Regions from separate parts of the Homo sapiens genome. Here regions 2 and 3 are each linked to region 1. Evidence: promoter capture Hi-C in human tissues and cell types (Jung and others, 2019). All regions are on one chromosome and are shown on one strand. The core of a region is centred on a gene start or on the middle of the fragment in contact, and the rest is flanking DNA. Distances in the headings are between cores, read along the strand shown.

Region 1 (3,249 bases), core at 452-2,951:
TCTTTGCAATAACTCTTGCTACTGCTCACTCTTTGGGTCCACACTGCTTTTATGAGCTGTAACACTCACCGCGAAGGTCTGCAGCTTCACTCCTGAAGCCAGCGAGACCACGAGCCCACCGGGAGAAATGAACAACTCCAGACGCGCCGCTTTAAGAGCTCTAACACTCACCGCGAAGGTCTGCAGCTTCACTCCTGAGCCAGCAAGACCACGAACCCACCAGAAGGAAGAAACTCCGAGCACATCCGAACATCAGAAGGAACAAACTCCAGACGTGCCACCTTAAGATCTGTAACACTCACCACGAGGGTCCCCGGCTTCATTCTTGGAGTCGGTGAGACCAAGAACCCACCAATTCCGGACACATTAGTACAGGTCTTTGAATAAATTTTGCTTCTAACAGAAGTTACTATTTATTCCTAATTAGATGGGCAGGAAAGTCTTTGAAGAGGAACCTCTACTTTACTTTTTACTGTAGAGAGAGTAGTCTTTGATCTTGGGGAGATGGGGTTTTTCCTTTTGGTTTAGCTTCAGGAAGTTTGTGTTAATTGGCCTTAGGTGCCCTGCCCCCAGCCCCAGGTGTTTTTCCTTTGATTTAACTTTAGGAAATTATCACGAATTGGCCTTAGATTCCCCGACCCCAGATCTTGGTGTTTTCACTTTTAGGAAGTCCGCATGAATCTTATCTATGCTCTTAACTACGTCCTAATTTTTGTGTTTTTTGTCTTTTTTATAGGAATAGGGTTTTGCCATATTGCCCAGGCTGGTCTCGAACTCCTGAGCTCAAGTGGTCTGCCTGCCTCAGCCTCCCAAAGTGCTGGGATCACTGGCGTGAGCCATCAGGCCCAGCCTCTATGTGCTAATTTTTGAACAAATTCCAATAGGAGCATTCTAGTCTCTGAGTGTGAGATGACCAAAAATCAAGCCCTTGTGAGGCTGAATAGAGTCGGGAGGCAGGGAACTTAAGGCTGTTTCAGGCCGACTTCCTAGAACTAAATTGAAAGGAAAACCCTCACTTTCCTCGCCTAAATAACAAAAGGACCAGAGGCTACTCCCTTTGACCTTTTCTGCTGGCAGATAGGAAATTGGCTGTCTGCAACAAATCAGACTGATGGCCGGTTGAGTCTTCATTTGCATAGAAGTGTAACTTTGTAACGTCGTAACTTCACCCTAGCCTTTGATTGGTTGCTTTTTGCAACCAATCAGATGTTTGCACAGGAGTGTGACCTTTGTAACTTCAGACTCTGGTTGGCTGCTTTCTGCAACCAATCAGACTGAACGCGGGCTACCGCTTCATTTACAGGAGGTGAGCATGAAGTGGCCAATGGGAAAATTCTAGGAGGTATTGGGACTCATGAAGGTTCTGTTTCGGAGCCCTTGAGCTGCCGCTTGGCCAGTTCCCACACTGTGGAGTATGCTTTCGTTTTCAACAAATCCCAGCTCTTGTTCTTTTGTTGCTTCATTCTTTCTTTGCTTTGCTGGGCGTTTTGTCTAATTCTTTGTTCAAAACGCCAGTAACCTGGACAGCTTGCAGTCAAGACCCCCTACCGGTGACACTTGCGCTCTTCGGGGAGGTAAACAGCATTTCCTCTCAGCTCTGGGTTGGAAAAAGCCGCAGCAGCTGATGGGCCCGGGAACCCGAGGCCCCGCCCCCTAGGTGGTCCTAGCCTTTGCGCGTGCGCGGCGTGTCTGCGTGGGCGCATGCGCATAACGGCCGCCATCTTAACAGCGCGTTCCCGTTGGCGTCTGAGGTAAGTTTTTGTTTCTGGGCGGCGTTCGGTGGTGTCCCGGTGCAGCCACGCGAGAGTAGAAGGGTGGAAAGGGGAGGTGCCCAGTGAAATGGAGCCTGTCCCGTGCACTTTCGGGCATTTCGAGCATCTTGTGGGCTCTCCCAAGTCGCGGCCCCTCCTCTGAGAGCCACAGTCAGGTCTGTCCTCAGGGGTCGAGGCGGCTGCGCTGGGGCCTCGGCCCGGGAGGAGGCGGGGGGCACGGCCTTTCCATTTTCCCTGCTCCCCTCTGCAGAAGCCTCATAGGGCCCGGCGCGGCGGCTCACGCCTGTCATTCCCAGCGCTTTGGGCGGATTGGGTAGGAGGATTACTTGAGGCCAGGAGTTCAAGACCAGGCAGGGCAACATAGGGAGACCCCCCCCCCCAACCATCTCTAATGGAAAAAAAAAAAAAAGTCTCCACATCCAGCGTTGTGCCTTTTCTCTATAAGGAACAGCATCTCTGCCTTCCTGTTCACGGTGACCTTCGCTTGGTGTCCTCCTGGCCTCAGCAACCTGACAATTCTGTCGTGTCCCGGTGAGCACTTCATGCACTTGTTCTGGCTGTGGGTGTCGGGTCTTGAAGTTTAAGTTGTGTCGAGGTGGAAAGAAACCTTTTCAGGTGGTTGTTCGAGAGCACATGGATCTGATACCATCGAATGCATGAGTGGATGAATGCACATAACTGTAAAATTTACCACCAAGGAAAAACACAGGACTACTCAACTGTGGTTCCAGGCCATCACCTAGATCTCACTCTAGCGCCCTGTAGATTCCCCCAGAGGTTCAAAACGAGGGCATCCCCAGGAACACGGTGCGGGCTGATTTACTAGCAGGAGGGATTGAATTGATAATGAATGCGAAGATAACTTTTGACAGGTGGGTTTTCTACCAGTTACTCATTTGAAAGTCTTACTGAGGGCGGGGCAAGGTGGCTCACACCTGTAATCCCAGCGTTTTGGGAGGCTGAGGCTGGAGGATCGCTTGAGCCCAGGAATTTGATGCCAACCTGGAAAAAATAGGGCAAGCCTCTGTCTCTACTAAAAATAAAAAATTAGCTGGGCATGGTGGTGTCTGTGGTCCCATCCACTTTGGAGGCCGAGATGCGAGGATCACTTGAGCATGGGAGGTCGAGGCTGCTGTGAGCCATTATTGTGTCACTGCATTCCAGCTTAGGCAACAGAGTGAGACCCTGTTTCAAAAAGAAGAAAAAAAAACAAATACTGATCTAGAGAACATCTGTAGCTCGAGTAAAACAAATGTCTTTAGTCCAGGTGTGGTGGCTCACGCCTGTAATCCCAGCATGTTGGGAGGCTGAGGCTGGCGGATCACGAGGTCAGGAGTTTGAGACCAGCCTGGCCAACATAGTGAAACCCCGTCTTTACTCAAAATACAAAAAATTAGCCGGGCGTGGGCACCTGTAATCCCAGCTACTCAGGAGCCTGAGGCAGGAGAATCGCTTGAACCTGGGAGGCAGAGGTTGC
Region 2 (2,916 bases), core at 373-2,872, 150 kb after region 1:
GGGAAAGATACACCAATGGAAGAGGCTCATGCAAGAAATGGCAAACTTTTCCATGAAACAGGGACTACGTTTCTAATTAAAGCAGTGAAAAGCACTTAAATTGCATATATCCCATCTTTCTGTTCTCTGAAGACACTGGTTATCTCTGACCTCTGAAATTCACATTCAAGCTTAACTCATTTCCTGTTTGCCCCAAGAAACAAGCACTAGCAGTGAGCTGCACTTTTTCTTTCTAAATGGCAAATGTTAAATACAAATTCTAAAAACCACTAAAACCTTTATTAAAATAGAAACTAATGGAAGCTCAAAGAGAGATCTTGATTCTCCTGGGAAAACTCCCATTCCAGTAGTTCTGAACTTTAGAGTGAATTACTCATCTGAATACAGGGCCCCAACAGCAGACTTTTTGATTTAGTACATCGAGTCTGAGAATGTACACATATCTAAGACAGTGATGGTGATGCTACTGACGCAAACTACCATACAAGATTAAAACCCATTAGTACAGGAACTGTCTCTGTTATTTCCTATTTTACTCATTAAAAAAAATTTTTTTTCAGTGTGTATATATCCCACTGTATTCAGATTTGACATCACTAATCCTAGAATACAGTAAGTACATAATTTGTATCTTGTTCCAGAATAGGCTACAAGGGATGATGCCAGACTTACCTACTGAGGACAGGTTCTTGTAGTTCTCCAGCATCACATCACTGTACAGGTTTCTCTGAGCTGGGTCCAGTAAAGTCCACTCTTCCTGGGTGAACTCCACAGCCACACTGTCAAAGGTTACCAGGTCCTAAACCATCAGACACATGCTGATTTGAGCCAAGCAACATCTCCACCAATGTTGGCTGAAGAATGAGGAAGGGGGACCCAATCCCTGTACAGGGTACTGAGTGCTCCCACTATCTACACCCCAAGGTTCAGTGGCCCTAGGAACTCTTCTATCCACATTCACTCACTGTCAATTTCCTCCAATAACATGGCTGTAACAGAACCTCTTACACAGAAACTTATCAACCACAACTAGACCGGGAGCTCATCTCATTTGATTCCTCTCTACTGCAAAACACTCCTGAGCACATAACAAATACTTGATAAATGAGGATATGGATAAATTCCTTAAGAAAAGAACACTTTCATACCCCTTACCATCTGTCCTAGCACCCAGAAAAATAAATATGCAGTTGGCACCAGGAAAATGAACACTAATTCATAAATACAAAAATACTGAGATAATTTCCAGGGTAATTCCTCACCAATATGAGAGGTATGACTTTCTGGGAAAAATTCAACTAGGGTCTATATTTGCTTTAAGGAAGAATACAGACAGGAGTACCTACAAGAAAATGAGTCTTTGTTGATATCATTACTCCAATTTTAGAAGGATACAACTTTCACACTAAGTTTAGATCTCCCCAAATTCATCATTATCAGAGCATCTCTCCAGAGACATTGCTCCCTCTTGAGTGAATGCTATTCCTCTCAATTATCTTTTGTGCTTATTTTCTATATTGGAAGTCCCAATATTCTCTGAGTGTGAAAAATAAGAAATACCCTTTCTTAACATTACCATTTGTATCCCATTAGAAGTTTGTATTTTCCAAAACTCCTGCTGCAGTGCTGAAACACTGGTTTGATGTTTTATTGCCCAGTCTGAAACAAAAACATAAACTGAGGTTTTTTTTTTTTTTAAAAAAAAAGGTAAAATGAAAGAGTTAAAAATTATAGGCCTCATTCATATTTGTTTTTAAAATAAACATAAGAAAAAAGAAAGCTAAATTGAACATTTAGACTGTGTCAAAAAATTGGCAATAATGAGATTAAAGGGTCAAAATTTTAGCTAATTTGCTACAAATTGACTCATTTAGATTTAAAACTAATGTTAAACAGAAAGAATGTTATCAGAAAAGTAGGAAAGATCTGGGCCAAAGCCATATTTCAAAGCAAAGAACTTGAAAAACAAAATATATAGTTTCATAAGATCATAGAAAGTTGGAGTAGATGGAAATTTAAAGAGTATCAAAAATTGAATATTTTCTAACTTCTGAGATAAATGGCCTTAACCTTGTGAGAGAAGGTGCATCTTAAAAAGTTCCCTCAGAGGGCTGGGTGTGGTGGCTTACGCCTGTAATCCCAGCACTTTGGGAGGCTGAGGTGGGCGGATCACAAGGTTAGGAGATGAAGACCATCCTGGCTAACACGGTGGAACACCATCTCTACTAAAAATACAAAAAATTAGCCGGGCATGTTGGCAGGCACCTGTAGTCCCAGCTACTCGGGAGGCTGAGGCAGGAGAATGGCATGAACCTGGGAGGCATAGGTTGCGGTGAGCCAAGATCGTGCCACTGCACTCCAGCCTGGGGGACAGAGTGAGACTCCGTCTCAAAAAAAAAAAAAAAAGTTCCCTCATTATGTTTCTGATGGTTTGGATGTTAGTTCCCTCCAAATCTCATATGGAAATGCAACGCCAAATACTGGAGGTGGGGCCTGGTGGGAGATGTTTGGATCATGGGGGTGGGTCCTTCATGAATGGCTTAGTGACATACTCGGAGTAATAAGTGAGTTCTTGTTCTGAATTCATGTGAGACCTGGTAGTTTAAAACAGGAGTCTCCAACTCCGGAGCCATGGACCAGAACCAGGCCACAGCACAGGAGGTGAGTGGCAGGAGAGCAAGTGAAGCTTCATTTGTATTTATAGCTGCTCTCCATCCTAATTGCCTCCTGAGCTCCGCCTCTTGTCAGATCAGCGGCAGCACTTGATTCTCATAAAAGAGCAAAATCTATCATGAACTGTGCATGCGAAGGATTTAGTTTGCGCGCTCCTTTTGAGAATCTAATGCCTGATGATCTGTCACTGTCTCCCATCACCCCCAGATCCCCAAATGGGACCATCTGGTTACAGGAAAACAA
Region 3 (3,244 bases), core at 238-2,737, 170 kb after region 1:
AAAAAAAAAAATCTTGAATAGAGCTCAGATCCAAAAACATTCCGTTATATTTTAGAAGAATTTGGAGAATTTTCATTTATTATACATAGTAAATATTAGATAACATTATTATTTTTAATTTTCTTGATGCAAATAGTATTACGGTTTTAGTAAAACAACACTCTTATCATTGAGTCAGGCATTACCCACTACTTAAATGTCGAGCTTACCATCCTGGCTATCACGGTGAAACCCCATCTCTACAAAAATACAAAAAATTATCCGGGCACGGTGGCACACCCCTGTAATTACAGCCACTTGGGAAGCTGAGGCAGGAGAATCGCTTGAACCCGGGAGGCAGAGGTTGCAGTGAGGCGAGATCGCGCCACTGCACTCCAGCCTGGGCGACACAGCTAGACCCCCTCTCAAAAAAAAAAAAAAAAAAAAAATGTCGAGCTTCATCTCTGCAATGAATTTCCCATTGACTCTCAAACTGTTCACCATAAAATTTATTTACGAGACGGCGAATACACAAAACGCTAAAAAACAGGTGCAGCTACAATGGATATTTATTCGTGGTACTGGATGGTCAACATACCCATAGGTTTAAGTTTTTTCGAAAAAAAATGCGGGAAAAATACACTTAGTACAGTCATCCTGTTAATGGTAAATTCGATTATTCTAGTATTAGTGTGTAAACCCTCCATCCTTTCTTCCAGGAAGCCTGGTTATGAAGCTCTTTGGAGACGTACAGAGCTAGGAACTTCAGATGAAAAGAATGGCTGAGTATTCTTAGGTTTCTTTAGTAGAAAGACTCGCGGTCTACAAACGTTTATATGCACATGCAGAAATACGCACACCCTAGACAACTAAGAAAGCACCTTTCTACCGGAACGTAATGTGTCAATAAAAAATATACAGGTTTCACAAAGGCAAAATGCCAAAATCTCACATGAAACACTCGTTTGCATAAAAAAGGAAGCAGCTGCCCCCTTAAACCAACTTTTTCCCAATGCTCACCCGAACACGGTGGAGTCGCCAGGTCCGTGGGGCTACAGGATCTTGGGGACGGAGTCAATCGAACGCGAACGGCAAAATTCTTTTCCCTCTGAAACACAATTCACAAACGTTGCCTTGGAGACTTATTTTTTAAGGCCTCAGAACGCTTGGACACTTTTGAAGACGGGAACACACGGCTGAAAACAGCCCTCGGACGCGCCCATACTGCACTTCCCACCCGGCTCCTCTAGGGGACCGAAGGTCCCAATGGCCTCTTCGACGTGGCCTCACCCGATGGCTCCGCGACTCCTGCGGACTCCTGTGGAGTGGTCCAGGCCTCTGTAAGGAGGTTCCTCGATTACCCTGGGTCGATTGTGACCTCTGCCACCCCCCGAAACACCGCCCAACCCACTAGTCCACACGAGCCTCACCAAAGTAGTGAACGACCAGACAACACAAAGGAAAAAGTGGCTCTGAGGAAACAGGCGCCAGCGACCAAAAGAGAGAACTGGCGCGCCGCAACGTCACTTCCGTTTGGGGCATTGGAAGGGGCGTGGCTCGTTGTGTGGGCAGTTGGACAGGATGGAACTCTTCAGGATTCTAGTTTCCCTCCGCGTGGGTGCGGAGGTATCAAGGGGTCGGCTCAGTGCCTGGGTGGGCAAGAGAGAAATGGACCCACAGAGAAAGGTGGGGGTTAAATCAGGGCTGTGGGCGGGGCCCATGCCCGGGGGCGGGGCTGGAGGTGGGACCAGACCCAGCCGGTGGCTTCGGTGGCAGAATGGACCAGGAAGGCGAAACGTCGGGCGATGGACTCGCCCCTCAGGATGCTCATTAGAAACTTTCCCCACGTTCCTGGACCCCTTTCAGGATTCTCTCCAGTTGATAACCTGCCAATCCACAAAATGGCCTGCTTCCTGCATTCGATCACGTCTTTAGAACTTTATTTTCTCTTATTTCTTTTTATTTATCTGACCTTGCTAAACTCTAATCATTGATTCCTCTGCGTTTTCAGTTATCGATACTTTCTGTAAATATTGCAATTTTTTTCTTTTCTTTCTTTTTTCTTTTCTTTTCTTTTTTTCTTCGAGGTAGGGTCTGGCTCGGTTGCCAAGGCTGGAATGCAGTGGTAGGAACACGGCTCACTGCAGTCTCCACCTCTCCAGGCTCAAGCCATCCTTCCACCTCAGCCTCCCGAGTAGCTGGGACCACGGGCGCACCGCACCCGGCTAATTTTTGTATTATTATTATTATCATCATTATTATTATTTTGTAGAGACAGGATCTAACCATGTTGCCCAGGCTGGTCTGGAACTCCTGGGCTCAAGTGATCTGCCCGCCCTGCACTCCCGAAGTGGGATTACAGGCGTGAGCCATCATGCACCATGCCTGGCCTTATTGTATTTTTTTTTCTTCTTCAACAATGTATTTGTTACTATTTCTCAAATCTTATCAAATGATTCAAAGCCTCCTGTACTACTTTATGAAATAACACTGATACCAGGCATTCTTCACTTATTCTGTGCAGAAAAAGAAAGGACTGTTGGACTTGTGGTAGAGATTTAGTTGAATCTTCGGGTTATATTGGTATCTTTATAATACTGAGTCTTCCTATGTGTGAATATACAATATCTCTCTATTTAGGTCTTCTTTAAACTCTTTCAGTAATGTTTTGAAATTTTCAGTTTACAAATATTTTACCTCTTGGGGTAAAGTTATTCCCATGTAACTTATTTGTAAAAGGGATCACATTCTCAGTTTCCTTTTCTGATTGTTCATTGCTGGTGTATAGATACAAAACTAATTTTCATCTCTTGATGTTGTACTGTGCAACTTTACGGAATTTATTACAAGCTCTGCTAGTTTTCTTGTAGATTCTTCAAAATTCTCTATATATCAAATATCACCTATAAATATATTTTTATTTGTTCTATTCTAATTGAGAAACCTTTTATTTTATTTTCTTGTGTAATTGCTCTGGCTAGAATTTCCTGTAGAGGCTGGGCACGGTGGCTCACTCCTGTAATCCCAACATTTTGGGAGGCCGAGGTGGGTGGATCACCTGAGGTCAGGAGTTCAAGACCAGCCTGACCAACATGGTGAAACCCCGTCTCTACTAAAGATACAAAAAATTAGCCAGGCGTGGTGGTTGGCACCTGTAATCCCAGCTACTCGGGAGGCTGAGGCAGGAGAATCACTTGAACCTGGGAGGCGGAGGTTACGGAGTTTGCAGTGAGTGGAGATGGCTCCATTGCACTCCAGCCTGGGT

Evidence for each region. Contacts are between HindIII fragments. The study calls those that stand out against the background at their distance.
Region 2: a contact is called between a fragment that was not itself captured here and the fragment with the promoter of ZNF559 in region 1, in 2 of the 25 tissues and cell types used here (H1 embryonic stem cells and aorta).
Region 3: a contact is called between the fragment with the promoter of ZNF560 here and the fragment with the promoter of ZNF559 in region 1, in 2 of the 25 tissues and cell types used here (IMR-90 fibroblasts and adrenal gland).

The regions. Positions count from the first base shown.
Region 1 is chr19:9,322,478-9,325,726 of GRCh38, forward strand. ZNF559 (zinc finger protein 559) reads left to right here and starts at 1,702. Exons shown (of 7, transcript NM_032497.3): 1 at 1,702-1,751; 2 at 2,218-2,303. It overlaps ZNF559-ZNF177 (ZNF559-ZNF177 readthrough), which reads left to right and starts at 1,702. Exons shown (of 13, transcript NM_001384659.1): 1 at 1,702-1,751; 2 at 2,218-2,303. RefSeq lists an enhancer at 1,546-1,795 and a silencer at 1,966-2,105. The HindIII fragment of the contact is 8,356 bases long and covers 1-3,249 here.
Region 2 is chr19:9,469,720-9,472,635 of GRCh38, forward strand. It overlaps ZNF560 (zinc finger protein 560), which reads right to left. Exons shown (of 10, transcript NM_152476.3): 6 at 1,577-1,659; 7 at 673-799. Among named protein-coding and RNA genes, the nearest start is that of ZNF560, 27 kb to the right of the region's middle. The HindIII fragment of the contact is 4,169 bases long and covers 1-2,916 here.
Region 3 is chr19:9,497,129-9,500,372 of GRCh38, forward strand. ZNF560 (zinc finger protein 560) reads right to left here and starts at 1,488. Exons shown (of 10, transcript NM_152476.3): 1 at 1,410-1,488; 2 at 1,000-1,087. The HindIII fragment of the contact is 15,358 bases long and covers 1-3,244 here.